2 separate regions of the Homo sapiens genome follow, and region 2 is linked to region 1. The links are contacts of gene promoters, found by promoter capture Hi-C in blood cells and fetal thymus (Javierre and others, 2016). All regions are on one chromosome and are shown on one strand. Each heading gives the region's core, a stretch centred on a gene start or on the middle of the fragment in contact. The rest is flanking DNA. Distances are from core to core; before and after follow the strand shown. Region 1 holds the start of MC4R (melanocortin 4 receptor). Region 2 has its middle 34 kb from the start of CCBE1.

The links. The method cuts DNA at HindIII sites, captures the fragments that hold promoters and counts their contacts. A CHiCAGO score of 5 or more calls a contact.
Region 2: a fragment that was not itself captured here is called in contact with the fragment with the promoter of MC4R in region 1 in 1 of 17 cell types (naive B cells); the score reaches 5.2 in naive B cells.

What each region holds. Positions count from the first base shown.
Region 1 is chr18:60,368,577-60,376,324 of GRCh38, reverse strand. MC4R (melanocortin 4 receptor) reads left to right here and starts at 3,550. Exons shown (of 1, transcript NM_005912.3): 1 at 3,550-5,263. The coding sequence starts at 3,976. The coding sequence ends at 4,974. The HindIII fragment of the contact is 4,351 bases long and covers 1-3,586 here.
Region 2 is chr18:59,727,694-59,735,441 of GRCh38, reverse strand. No RefSeq gene overlaps it. Among named protein-coding and RNA genes, the nearest start is that of CCBE1, 34 kb to the right of the region's middle. The HindIII fragment of the contact is 3,160 bases long and covers 3,022-6,181 here.

The sequences.
Region 1 (7,748 bases), core at 2,301-4,800:
GGAGATGTTAGTTCCTGACATCTAAGGAAATCTCTGTCCACTTATCAGCTGACCAATAAGCTATCAGAGCAGAGACCTCATTGATCATACAAGACAAAGAATACAGACATTCTAGAATTATTTAAGAAAAATTACTGAACAACAACAATAACAAACAACAACAACAACAAACCCTGGGTAAGAGAGAAAATCTGATTTTCAGGGTTGCTGGATTGTGTTATTCAAAATTCCCCGTTTCTAACAAAAATGAATAAATAAAATGCAGGCAAATAAATAAGAAAATATAGCCCATACACATTAGGAAAAGGAAGTCAGCAGAAATTATTCCTGGGGAAGTCTAGATGTTGCACTTAATATATAAAGCCTTTAAATCAGTTCAAACATGTTCAAAGGATTAGCGAAAACTATACGTAAAAATTAAAGGAAATTATGAGAACAATTTCTCATCAAACAGAAGATATCAAAATATAAGTGTAAACTTTAATAACCATGGGTTAGGCAATCCTTTTTTAAATATGATCCCAAAAGCTCAGGCAACCAAAAAAATTTGATAAATTTAACATCATCGTAATTAAAAGGTTTGTGGTTTCAAGAACACTATCAATAATTGAAATGGCAAAAGTACCCAGAATATGTAAAGAGCCACTACAACTCAATAATTTAAAAAAATCCAATTAAAAATGAGCAAAGGATTTGAATAGGCATTTCTCCAAAGATTATTACACAAGTAACTGGTAAGGATGTAAAATCATCTTCAGTATCATTAGGCATTAGGGAAATGAAAATCAAAAGTATAATGAGAGTTCACTTCATATCCTTATGATGGCTAAAATAAAAAAGATGGACAATAGCAAGTGCTAGCAAGAATGTGAAGAGATTTGAACCCTCATACATTGCTAACTGGAAATGTCAAATGGTGCAGCCACTTCAGAAAACAGTTTGGCAGTTCCTCAAAACAAGAAACAGAGTTATCATATGATTCAGCAATTCCATTCCTGGTTGTGTATCCAAAAGAATTGAAATCATCTGTCACATAAGAATTTGTCCATAAATATTCCTAGCAGCATAATTCGTGATAGCCAAAACTGGAAATAACCCAAATGTTCCTCAACTGATGAATACATTTAAAAATATAATGTATACAGCCAGGTGCAGTGGTTCATGCCTGTAATCCCAGCACTTTGGGAGGCCGAGGCGGGCGGATCATGAGGTCAGGAGATCGAGACCACGGTGAAACCCCGTCTCTACTAAAAATACAAAAAATTAGCAAGGTGCGGTGGCGGGCACCTGTAGTCCCAGCTACTTGGGAGGCTGAGGCAGGAGAATGGCGTGAACCCAGGAGGCGGAGCTTGCAGTGAGCTGAGATTGCACCACTGCACTCCAGCCTGGGTGACAGAGCGAGACTCCGTCTCAAAAAAAAAAAAAAAAAAAATATATATATATATAAATGTATACATACAATGGAATATTACTCAGCCATAAAAACAAATCAAAACTGGGCACAGTGGCTCATGCCTGTAATCTCAGCACTTGGAGAAACCGAGATGGGAATATCGTTTGAGCCCAAGAGTTTGAGACCAGCCTGGACAACATAATGAGATTCAATCTCTACAAAATTATTTTTTAAAAGCTAGCTGGGTGTGGAGGTACATTTAGTTCCAGCTACTCAGGAGGCTGAAGTAGGAGGATCACTTGAACCTAGTGAGCCATGATCATGCCACTGCACTCCAGCCTGGGTGACAGAGCAAGATCCTGTTTTAATTTTTTAAAAATCAAATTCTGATTCACATTATAGTGTAAGCAAACCTTGAAAATATTATGCTACATGAAAACAGTGAGCCACAAAAGGCCACATATTGCATTATTTCAATCATATAAAATGTCTAAAATAGGCACATTGATAGAGACAGAAAGTAGATTAGCAGTTCCTAGAGGATAAGGAAAGGGTAAAATGGGGAGCAACTGCTAATGGGATAATGAAAATGTTTTAGAAATAGAAAGTGATGATTATGGCACAACTCTGTGAATATATTCCCCCAAAAATCCATTTAATTACTAAAGAGGTGATTTTTTTTGGTATGTGAATTATATGTCAATTTTTAAAAAGAGAAAAAATAAGGCAAGAGGAAGGTAAGATTATTTCCAGCTCATGATGTTCAGGAAAGCCCATTCCAGCATTTTACAATATACAGATGATTAGGCATTCAGAAATACAGGGGAAGGGAGTTGGAGGTGTGAGTTCTGCTCTGTGCAATCATTCAAGAGACAGGCTCCTTTCATGATATGGTCCTGCCACCTGTAACATGAGATTTCAAAGACAGGAGAGAAAACTTGTGTAAAATTATGAAAGAGCTAATGCGATGAGCCCCACTGTCAACATGCCATTAGCTAGAATTTAGTCATAAGGTCCTACCCAATTCCAAAGGTGGATGGAAGACGTTAATTTATCTCAATGCTCAGGAACAATACTTAGTATTGTCTCTGTCACAAAAGGAAAGAGGATACATTCCCAACCTAAGTAACTGAGATTCAGAATTAACCCTGAAATAAGCAGCTACAAACTATAGAGCACTAAAACCAAAAATAATCATAGAAGAAAAGAATATACAAAATTTTGTATAATCTGTTGTTCAGTTAATTTGGAAAGTAACTTTGCTGCCATCTTTCAAACCACCTTAAGCAAAATATTCAGAAACTTCAATAACTAACTAGTATCACCAGTCTTGGCTTGATAAGTAAAGTTACTAGGTATTTGTCGGTTCAACTTACGATACGTTAAACTCTGGAGGTTTAAAAAAAAGTTGCTTAAAAAAAAAAAACAGAATGCAGCTTATTATTTTCCTGAGTTCAGTGTAAGCATAGTTACATTAATGCCGTATGAGTTTAAAATATTGTAAATAAAAAGCACCTTTTTTCAGCTATAACACAAACTCCTCAATAGAGAAATATGGGATATTAGTGCATTAAAATCAACCCCTTTTGAACCCATTCATAATTTATAGCTACCTACATAGTTCTTCCAGCCATACCATGTCTATCTGTATCATTAAATATCCTCTCTGTTTTTCAGGTATTTTAACTGAACCACTACTGGCTGGGTTCTTAATAAAAACAAAAAATTAAGAAGGTAAATAAATTCAGTATCCTAGCCAAAAAGCAGAGTATCTGTTTCAGGAACATAAGACAGTATACTTTCCATTTCATTTTACACACACACATGATGTCTTTTACATAAGAATGAACCTGGCTGCCTGAAGATAGCTTGTTTTGATATCACAGAATGGCCTCTAGGGATCAAGTTGTTTCCCTTGAAAACTTAAAAAGGGAAATTCAGTCTCTTATCCGGCTTGCTTCTCGACTTCAGACTTCAGGAGCTTCTGCATCTGAATCTGTGTCACCCTGCAATTTGTGTCTCTGAAACATAATCCTGTCTCACAGACTCCCATTGCATTGGGATTGGTCAGAAGGAAGCAGAGGAGGAGCCACCGTGAACATGTTTTTTTTCTCTCCACACATCATAAAAATCAGCAGCTGGCGCCTACAGCCCCTAACACTCAAAGCAACGCTCAGGCTGGAAACAGAAGCTTCCGAGAGGCAGCCGATGTGAGCATGTGCGCACAGATTCGTCTCCCAATGGCATGGCAGCTTCAAGGAAAATTATTTTGAACAGACTTGAATGCATAAGATTAAAGTTAAAGCAGAAGTGAGAACAAGAAAGCAAAGAGCAGACTCTTTCAACTGAGAATGAATATTTTGAAGCCCAAGATTTTAAAGTGATGATGATTAGAGTCGTACCTAAAAGAGACTAAAAACTCCATGTCAAGCTCTGGACTTGTGACATTTACTCACAGCAGGCATGGCAATTTTAGCCTCACAACTTTCAGACAGATAAAGACTTGGAGGAAATAACTGAGACGACTCCCTGACCCAGGAGGTTAAATCAATTCAGGGGGACACTGGAATTCTCCTGCCAGCATGGTGAACTCCACCCACCGTGGGATGCACACTTCTCTGCACCTCTGGAACCGCAGCAGTTACAGACTGCACAGCAATGCCAGTGAGTCCCTTGGAAAAGGCTACTCTGATGGAGGGTGCTACGAGCAACTTTTTGTCTCTCCTGAGGTGTTTGTGACTCTGGGTGTCATCAGCTTGTTGGAGAATATCTTAGTGATTGTGGCAATAGCCAAGAACAAGAATCTGCATTCACCCATGTACTTTTTCATCTGCAGCTTGGCTGTGGCTGATATGCTGGTGAGCGTTTCAAATGGATCAGAAACCATTGTCATCACCCTATTAAACAGTACAGATACGGATGCACAGAGTTTCACAGTGAATATTGATAATGTCATTGACTCGGTGATCTGTAGCTCCTTGCTTGCATCCATTTGCAGCCTGCTTTCAATTGCAGTGGACAGGTACTTTACTATCTTCTATGCTCTCCAGTACCATAACATTATGACAGTTAAGCGGGTTGGGATCATCATAAGTTGTATCTGGGCAGCTTGCACGGTTTCAGGCATTTTGTTCATCATTTACTCAGATAGTAGTGCTGTCATCATCTGCCTCATCACCATGTTCTTCACCATGCTGGCTCTCATGGCTTCTCTCTATGTCCACATGTTCCTGATGGCCAGGCTTCACATTAAGAGGATTGCTGTCCTCCCCGGCACTGGTGCCATCCGCCAAGGTGCCAATATGAAGGGAGCGATTACCTTGACCATCCTGATTGGCGTCTTTGTTGTCTGCTGGGCCCCATTCTTCCTCCACTTAATATTCTACATCTCTTGTCCTCAGAATCCATATTGTGTGTGCTTCATGTCTCACTTTAACTTGTATCTCATACTGATCATGTGTAATTCAATCATCGATCCTCTGATTTATGCACTCCGGAGTCAAGAACTGAGGAAAACCTTCAAAGAGATCATCTGTTGCTATCCCCTGGGAGGCCTTTGTGACTTGTCTAGCAGATATTAAATGGGGACAGAGCACGCAATATAGGAACATGCATAAGAGACTTTTTCACTCTTACCCTACCTGAATATTGTACTTCTGCAACAGCTTTCTCTTCCGTGTAGGGTACTGGTTGAGAATATCCATTGTGTAAATTTAAGCCTATGATTTTTAATGAGAAAAAATGCCCAGTCTCTGTATTATTTCCAATGTCATGCTACTTTTTTGGCCATAAAATATGAATCTATGTTATAGGTTGTAGGCACTGTGGATTTACAAAAAGAAAAGTCCTTATTAAAAGCTTAACAATGTCTCCTTCGTGTTATTCATAAGCATTGGACACTTTGCGTGCTTTCGTAACATAGAAATCAGAGCCTCATTAAACATATTCTAATAAATGCTTTATTATATTATATTATCCACCATTGAAATGTAGAGAGTTCATTCTAGCAGTTAAGGGAAAATATTTAAAGAATAGATGTATAATCATTTTTAAAAATATCATCACTGAAATTTCAAGTAATTTAATTAAAGGTTTGTTCATCCTCCCTGTGCAGAAGTAGAAATGAAGCTCCTCTAGAGAGAAAAACAGGTGCTGAAAAAAGAGAGATGCTGAGTTAGAAAACTATGTGTACTTCTCAGACACAGAAAGATTCATCTCCCTTAGCAAACAGCCTGATATTTCACACAGGCAATTCGGTTTGGGGTGGGTGGGAAAAGGCAGCTATAGGGATGAAAGTGTCCTGGAAAACCTAAGTTGCCATGTCAAGCTAAATTTCCTGTTACCAAATTATCCCTAAACAATATTAATAAAACAGAGAATGGGGATTTATGCCCCCTTTAAACAAGGATTCAGGGTCTGCTGAAGTGTCCAGAAAAGGTAATATTGTACTGAGAGATTTAGCTTCCTGTTTCTAGAGAAGTACAGGACTGACATCGAATTCTTTCTCATTTCACATGAAAATGACTTGCTGTTTACTTATTGCTGATTTTTTGAACTGGAGTACAAATGTTGATTATCAAGGATTTTAAACTTCAAAACCAAATTCATAGCAGAAGTGTTTTCTGGCAATATTTGTAAATAACTAAAATAAAGGTATCTGTGATGCTGGTACATTTTAAGCAGGAAGGGAGGCACCTACCAAACCCCAGAGGATGTCATGCAATAAACTAGCCTTCCACAGCCACTTCTTGAAGAGTAAAATGTTTTGCTCCAAAATAATCCTACAGATTTGGCCACTGAGCAATAAAATTTGTACTGTACTTTCTAATCTGTGTGTAATTTAAAATAAAGCAAAAGAATATATTAGGTTGAGGATTACCAGTAAACTATCTTAGGATTTACAGGGTCTTCAAATGCTCATGGGCAGAAGTCATATGCAAAGGTACTCCTTAACTCAAATCTAAATGTTTTACACTGATTATAAGACCCAAGAAACACTTTCAACATTCATCTGAAAACACTACCTTAAAGGATAATAGTGAAGTTAAAGTTTACACATAAGAAGTGGTACTAAAGCTGAAATTTTAATTCCACTGCAATTCCTCTATTTTGAAGCAAAAGTGAATGTGAGGATTTAAATATACACTAATCTAACAATCATAGTCTATAGCAGTAGAGGGACACAGTTATGTTTTTTTCATTGCTACGTTTCCTGTCCATTCTTTCATTTCATGAATCTGAAAAATCCCAGGGACTAGAGATATGAAAAAGAGAGCTATGAGCACACCCCATCTTCTGTGGTGGCTGCCCTTCCCAGTTTATCCTATTTCTCCTCCAAGTGCCATCTCAGATCCTGGCTCCTCCTTCTTCAGGTTCATACCTTCTCCTGGAGTGGTTTACAGTGTTAGGGTGTGTATAATTCATGAACGAGCCATATAACAGCACCCTCCCCTATATGCCATGGTACCATATTGGACTTCAGCTCCTTTAAGTGCAGAGACTGTCTCTTACTCAGTTTTTCTATTCTCCAAGTCTTCCTCTATTCAAGTTGCTTCCTTTTGTTCAAGTAAAAACAAGATTCCCTCAGAGGCCAGGCCTTACCCAAGCCACCTCTAAGCTCCATTCCACATCCAGTGAGATTTGGAGCCCCACCAGCTCTAGCTGGATTGTTATTGTATCAATTGGGGAAGTGTTATGGTTTAAAACTGTAGGCTTAAGCAAGTATATTTAGGATGAATACAGGAGGGAGCAGAGAGTGAGAGTGGGGCTGGAGATTTGGAGGAAACAAGCTTGAAGTACACGAAATGAAGATACTGTAGTGACCATGGCTGCTAGAGCAGATGCAGAGAAAGTGGTTATTCCAAGTAGGTAATTTTAAATATATTAGGAGCAAAGAACTGAAATTCACAGAATTGTATGAGAACATTCCCCTCAAGGAAAGGGGATTCTATTTCCGCTCCATTCACCTTACATCTAATAACAACATGTCATCACGACTTCAGACCTTATCCAACCATAATATTCAGATTCCTGTTTGGAATCCCCAGTTCCATATTGCAGTCTCACTTTCCTTGCTGTTTTATTTTTGTGCATTCTGTCTCTTCTGTTAGGATGTGAGCCCCTTAAAGAAAAGCCTTATGCTCATATTTTTATTGCCACAGGGAATAGCATATTTCATATTTAACATATTAGAGAGACTAAAAAAATCTAGAGAGAGAGAAAATATTCTTGACTTCTGAAAGTGGTTTCCCATTTAGTCTCACCTTGACCATTCTTGATGCTGCATCTATTTCAGTGGTGGCAATGATGACAGATCGGGGCAGAACTTTCTTATGTAGCAGCTGCCTAGCCATCA
Region 2 (7,748 bases), core at 3,352-5,851, 640 kb after region 1:
GCCCAGCTCCAACTGCAGCACATTCCATTGTTATCATGCCAGCAGAGCCTCAGCTCACCCTTGATCTGGCAGGTAGGAAAACTGAGTTCCCTGTGGACAGTGGAGCCACCTACTCTGTCCTGACCCAGCCTATTGACCCCCTCTCCAACCATGACTGCATGTTAATGGGAATAGACTGATGGCCTAAGGCAAGAAAATTTACTTTCCCTCTTCCTTGGGAGGCTGGGTCTAGACTTATTTGTCACTCATTTCTGTTTGTCCCTACATCTCCTACTCCATTTTTGGGTAGGGACTTATTAAGCAAAATGGGAGCCACCATCAACCTGGAAGAAGACAGAGTGCAGTTGGAGGTAGAGCCAGAACGTGGAATCCACTTGCTAGCACTCTTAAATGGACAGGAACTGGAGAACTCAAACATTTCTGAGGAAATCAAGGATCAAGTAAAGACTTTCATATGGGAGGGGCCAATAATGTTCCCCTAGTAAAAACAGACCTAAAGCCTGGGGGTGGGCTACTTGTGGAAGGAACAGTTCCCCTTAAAACCTAAGGCACTGAACAGGATTCAGCCATTACTCCACAGATTCCTACAGCTTAGGTTAATTAAACCGTGCCAGTTCCCTTGCAACACCCTGATCCTCCCTGTCAAAAAGCCTAGTGGAGAATATTGGTTTATGTGAGACTTCCAGGAGGTTAATGAGGCAGTCATTCCCATCCACCCAATGGTCCCAAACCTGTACACCTTGCTCACCCAGATCCCTAAAGATGCTCAGTTTTTTTACTGTGCTAGACTTAAAGGAGGCTTTTTTGTGTGTGTACTCCTCTATCCAGAATCCCAATATCTTTTTGCTTTTGAATGGAGAAATCTCGACATGCAGGAAGCCACACAATACAAGTGGACTGTTCTTCCCCTGGGGTCTAGGAGAGCACCTACCTTTTTGGGAAGCATTGGCTAAAGAGCTCAGGGAGCTAAGCCTATGGAATGGAACTTTATTACAATATGTGGATGACTTGTTAATTGCCAGCTGGACAGGGCAGGATTTAGATTTTAATACCATTAAAACCCTGAATTTCCTCACTGAGAGTGGATACAAGGTCTATTCAAGACCCAGATTTATTTACAAAACATTCAGTATCTGGGGTTCCTTCTGATCCCAGGAGCCCACATTCTGGCTGGGGATTGGAAAAAGGTAATCACGTCATTGCTGGTCCCATAAACAAAAAGGCAGCTCAAAGGTTTCTTGGGAATGGTGAGCTTCTGTCGTATTTGCATTCCAAATTATGACCTGACAGCTAAACCCTTATGTGAGACCCTAAAAGGGGAAAAAACAGAGCCCTTGTACTGGGATAAGAAATGCCAACAAGTTTTTGAAGCCTTAAAAACTGAGTTGGGTCAAGCCCTCACCCTTGGACTCCCCAACTTAGAAAAACCATTTATCTTGTATATTTGTGGGAGACTAGGAATAGCTTTGGGAGTCTTAATCCAAAGGTTAAGACCTGTTCAGTGGCTGGTGGCTCATTTTTCAAAACAGTGGGACCCAGTTGCACAGGGGTGGCCTTGCTGCTTGATGGCAGTGACAGCCACTGCCCTACTGGTTAGTGAAGCCTCTAAGCTGATTCTGGGTTAACATATATAAGTTATGACATCCTACCAGGTTCAGACTGTGTTAGAAGTCAAGAGACACAATTGTCTCACTTGGTGGGGGGGAGACTGACCAAACACCAACCTCTCTTATTAGACACCCCAGACATTACTTTGAGTATATGTCAGACCCTGAAGCCAGCAACTTTAGTCCCAACCACAGATGATGAGGGCTTATGACGGTGCAGAGAGACCATAAAACAGACATTCTCCAGCAGGCCTGACTTATGAGATCAGCCTTTTGAGAACCTGGAGGCAGAATGGCATACTGATGGCAGTAGCTTTGTGGAGGAAGGAACCTGAATGGCAGGATATACAGTAGTAAGCCTGAATGAGACTACAGAAGCTAAAACCCTTCCTCCCCAAACCTCAGCACAAAAAGCAGAACTGATGGCCTTCATCAGAGCCTTACAACTGGGAGAAGGGGAGCGAGTACGTGTATACACTGACTCAAAGTATGGGTTTCTTGCACTGTGTGGCCATGCAGACATATGGAAAGAAAGGGGAATGTTAACAGCTAAAAATTCCCCAATCAAACATAAGGACCCAGTCCTACTTCTCCTGGAAGTGGTACAACTTCCCTGCCACATAGCAGACATTCGCTGCAAGGGCCACCAGAGAGACAGGTCCCTCATTAGCCAAGGAAATAATAGGGATGATAGGGCCACAAAGCAGCCTGGTTACAGGAACCCAGCAATGTGTTGTCCTTAATGATAGACCCCACCAACCTTCTGAATCACCCACGATACTCACAAGAAGAGCTAGAGGAGGAAAACAATGATGGATGGTTCCCAGATGGTGATAAGATTTTTATTCCGGGAACTGACCAGTAGAAACTTATTAAGCATCTCCATGATGCCATTCATTATGGGACAGATGTTTTATGGAATATTGTATATAAAATATTAATTGAAAAGGGATTGAGAAAAACTAAAATAAGTAACCTTTGCCTATGAACTGTGTTCCCAGAATAATCCCCAAACCTATCCAGTTCCTCCCTCTTGACTTAAGCTGGTTCAACACAGGGGAACTTATCCAGGAGAAGACTGGCAGGTAGATTTACTCAAATGCCCCCAAATCTAGGATACAAATATCTCCTGGTGTTTGTGAATACTTTTATTGGGTCACTCAAGGCTTTTCCTATTCATACAGAAGGAGCAGTAGAAATCTATAAATCTTTACCAAAATAAATATTAATAATTTCTTGATTTGGACTCCCCAAATCCCTTCATAGCAATAATTCGCCCTCCTTTGTGGCTAAGATTACCCAGAGCCTCTTCACATCGTAGGAATAGATTAAAGACAGTGCCATCCTGGCACCCCCAATCATCAGGTAAAGTTGAAAAGATGAACTATATTCCTAAGCTGATTCTAGAAAAGCTTTGTCAAGAGACCTACAGCCCTGGGTTACGATGCTCCCAGTTGCACTTCTTAGAGTCTGCATGGCCCCTTGGGGCAGCCTAAGACTTAACTCTTCTGAGATGATCTATGAGAGGAGTTTCCTCACCACTGACCTCCTGTTAGATGGACAATTAAATTAAAAATTATAATATATAATTAATTTAGGACAGGTTCAAAAGGCAATTTCAGAATATGGGAACAAAATCCTGCCAGTCTCCACTAAAGATGGGGAAACCCCTTTATGGATTAATCCAGGAAACCAAGTCCTCCTTAAGACTGGGAAGGAGGACTTCCTGGAGGAACAACCATTGGCTAAATGGAAGGCACTTTACTTGGTGATCCAAACACCCAGTAAGGTACAGAGGTGTACCCTAACTGAGGATTCCTTGTATCCCTAGCTGGGTACACCTCACCTGATTAAAACATCTTTTCTCCTAAATGTTTCTAGACATGCCCAGAAAGCCCATCTTACTCATGTGAACCTATGGATGATCTCAAATACCTGTTCAAGAGAGCCAGTTCATCCCTGGAGTAATGTGGTTAGAGATCTTGAGTCCAGTAATTCTCCTTACAATATGAATTGTTTTACAATTATTCTGTTGCTTTGCTCAGCCTCCTCCCCTGGTAAACACCTCTTTTATCCCTGCTGCATATAGTTATGCTCCTCTTTACTTTGTTCCTACTCCTCCATGTAGGGGGACGTGGTGGGCTGGGCCCTCTTGAAAAGGGAAACAAACTCTCTCATCTACCTTTCTGGCATTGCAGCTTTGGGTAATAATTTGTCCAACTGCTGGATATGCCACCATCATCAGCAGGCTCAGGGGCTGCCTCTTTCATTCCCTAAAAGCTCGACTACCAGTTTCACAAAGGAGGTATGGGAACCTAAAGTAACCCCTGCACCTCTCATGGTACACCTAAGTGCCTCATTTCCTGTGAATGTATAAACCTCACTGGCCTGCTAAATGCTTCAGTCATCGAAAGGGTGGGAAAAGGGGAAGTTGAAATGCCTACTTTGACATCTCACAGGCTTTTCCCTCATCAGTTTTTTTTTTAAAAAAAGCCCTAATCAAACGTGGACTAGGGGAGTTCGTCTTTCTCTCCCAATGCCCAAAACAGTCATACCTCTCTGCAAAGCTCAGTCAGTCACCTGCATTCCTCTTGCCCCATGTAAATTGCACACCCCTAGGATATGTGTCCTTTTGTGGACACCAAGACCATTTGGCCAACAGCTATCCACTAACCAATTTCACATGTCCATTACTCATACCAGCATGCCCTTGTGTCTATAATGTATAACACACTGCACCCTTAGGTACTTTGAGCCCCAATGGAATAACAGTTCATAACAGCACACATCCAAAATCTAAAAGGCTGACAGGTTTACAGCTAATTTTGGCATGAGTTGGAATAGCTATCCGTTTAGCAGACACTTGGGGGTGGCTTTGCATACTGTGAGGCAACTTTGAGGAAGTTAACAGAAACCCTTCAAACACTGTCAACCAGTACGAGGGAAAATTTAAAAGAACTTCAGGCTTCCCTAGACTCCCTAGTCAATGTTGTCTTAGACCAGAGATTGGCCCTGGACTATCTTCTAGCTGAACAAGGGGGAGAATGCACAGAATAAACCACACCTGTTGTTCTTATGCTAACAATTCAGGGTTAGTTGAACTGCAAGTTCAAAAGATTTACCAACAGGCTACCTGGATGCACAATTTCAAAAACCCCACTTCTCAGACCATCTGGGACTTCATCAAAGGATACTTACTATGAGTGACAGAATTTTTACCTTTCCTTGGACCCTAGGTGGTCATTTTATTGCTATTACTTTTCGGGCCTTGTATTTTTAACCTTTTGGTAAAGTTTGTATCTTTCAGGCTTCAATAGTTTCAAGTCAAGCTAATGATGGCCCAAGGATTTCAACCCATATCATTCCAGAAGGATCTCTGTCCCTGCAGGTCTATAGAACAGTCAGTGAGAGACTTCCACACCCTCCAAGATTAGGCATGGAAGACAACCCTGTTCAGCAGGAAGTAGCTTCAGAAGATGAGATCTTTGGTTCTTTCTCTTTAAGAATAAGGAGGGGAAAGGTGAAATCTCTCAGCGGGGAATTGAGATAGAATAGGAATGGGATGCAACTCCTCCTTCACATATGTTTTCTTCTCTTTTTTTCTCTCGTCCCAGTGATCACAAAATTCACACCGTTACCTTGCTGGCAATCTACTTGCTAACCCCAAGGCTTTAGTCATACCAAGCAAATAGCCATTCTTCTGTGCTCTCATGATGTTTAACCATGCCTTTTACTTAAAGAATTCCAGGAACTGGCCTTTGGAAATCCAAATATCAAACCAAGGTTAAGAGTGTCCCACCTTGGGAAGGAATGCTCAGCAATCATTTGCAGCCTTGTTGCTGTTGGCCAGACCCGCCAGGTGGCCCATGACTCAAGATGATCAATGTAATCAGATACGCTGACCGCATACCCCACCCCTCAGGTGCTTTGCCTACTCCAGCCTGCACACATTACCCTTGACACCCATTCCCATGCTTTGCCTAATAAAAATATCCCTACCAGCTTTTTTGGGGAGTCAGCTGGAGAGTCCTTGAGTCTCTGCTGTTTCCCTTGCACTCAAGCACAAGCCCTGAAATAAAAGGCTTGTCTAGGACATCTGCGTGGCTCAGTGTTACTTTTTATTACATGGGGAACCAAAGAGCCTGTGATTTGTACCAATAGCATAACATGAGCATGGGTATAATAACTCATACTCACAGTTCCAGGGATTAGGGCAGGAAATCCTGGGGGACTATTTTGGCATTTTGTCCGATCCAAGCCCTCATTTGTTATCCATGTATCTTATTCATCCATAGTCCAGTATCTTCTCAAAGAGCTCCTCTTCTAAGAGTAATTTCTTGCTTGCATTGTCCAAGAAGAAATTGCTTAGTTGCTTAGTTCAAATCTCTTTCTATTTGGCCTGGACAGACATAGCTAGTGTATCTAAGTCAAGTATATCTTTAAAATATGCCCCAGACCCAGGATTAACAGAATTGAAATTACTATTAAATTGCAGATTCCTCCCATTTTACCTGAACTCATTATTAATTATAGAGTTATATATAATGAATGTTTGAACTACAATGATGTAAGCTTACTTCCCCAGCTAATGCTCTTCCATGAGCCCAAAATCTTTCAATAGATACAAATTGGAATTGGAATTGGAAAAACTTTTGGCCAATGTGTAGCAAGCTTTCCAGAGAAGTATTTGTCACTGACATTGTTGAAACCTAAATAGACTTCTCCCTTAGGATCCTCATGAAAGTCTGGAAATATCAATCATCCCTTAAACATAGTCCAAGATTTTCTGTTTTCTGGTTTTTACAAACTGTCAGTTTTGATTTTTATTGAGCAATAAGAAGCTTGGTTGTTTATTGGAACAAACAAGGCTAGTAACAATTCTTTCCAAGTGCTGGATCTTTCCATTCACTTAAACTAAATAAAGTATTTCTGGTATGTCCGTAAGAGACAAGAGTGTGGAACGGCCGAGCGTGCCTCTGAAAGGATTTGTGGTGCTCCCTGGGGGTCCCTTCCCCACGATCAACCTATTTGTTTTTTTGTTTTCTTTTTAAATATTTGCAAACACAAAATGGATACAAATTCTAATTCCCCTTTGGTAGAATTGGAAGATAGTGAAATAATGAATAAATTAGGAGTTGAAATTCCATGGCAATGTCTTTATTTTAAAGCAAACAAACCGAGCACCGTGGAGTATGAACAAAGGGCTTAGACATAGTGAGCCTGGATACTCCCCACTGGAGTGGTCAGGTGTGGCGTGGGGTGGTGGAGAGGGGCAGTGGCAGTGGGCACTTTTGTGGTGTGGTCTGTCAGTAGTGGATGGTGAATAACCAGTTCTTGAGACTCAGGGTGGGACTGAGGGCATAGCCAAGACTGTAAGTTTAGGCTTTTTCCTCATCTGATCGAAGGGCTCTTTTCATTCCCTTCTCTCAGGAGAGTAGTGTTTTCAAGTCTCTCTACTTTTTTTTTTTTTTTTTTTTTTTTTTTTTTTTTAGATGGAGTCTTGCTGTGTAACCCAGGCTGGAGTGCAGTGACATGCTCTCGGCTCACTGTGACCTCCGCCTCCTGGATTTAAGCAATTCTCCTGACTCAGCCTCCTGAGTAGCTGGGATTACAGGCGCCCGCCACCACACCCAGCTAATTTTTGTATTTTAGTGGAGATGAGGTTTCATCATGTTGTCTAGGCTGGTCTCAAACTTCTTACCTTAAGTAATCCACCTGCCTCAGCTTCCCAAAGTGCTGGGATTACAGGTGTGAGCCACCGTGCCCGGCCTCAAGTCTCCCTTTGAGGTTCCTTTGCTTTGTACAACCACAGAGGAAGGGGATTTTTTTTTTCTCTTTTGCCCTTCAAGAAGCTCCTTTCCTCCCAGCTTATATTAGTACCAATAAAGAATACCTCTAGGTAGAAATATATTTCTAAATTTCCACTTTTTTCCATAAGTGTTATAGGATTTTTTTTTAAAAAAAAAACATGATCACAAAGTTTCACATCCAATAAATTCAATTGGTGAGTTGATGGTTTTAGAAATCAGTTCCAATTACCCATAATTCTATGGGGTTTCTTTCTTACTTAGTGACTTAGTGATGTGAATATATACACAATTTTTCTCTATTTTAAAGCGACTAGTCTTTTTATGGCGTGCT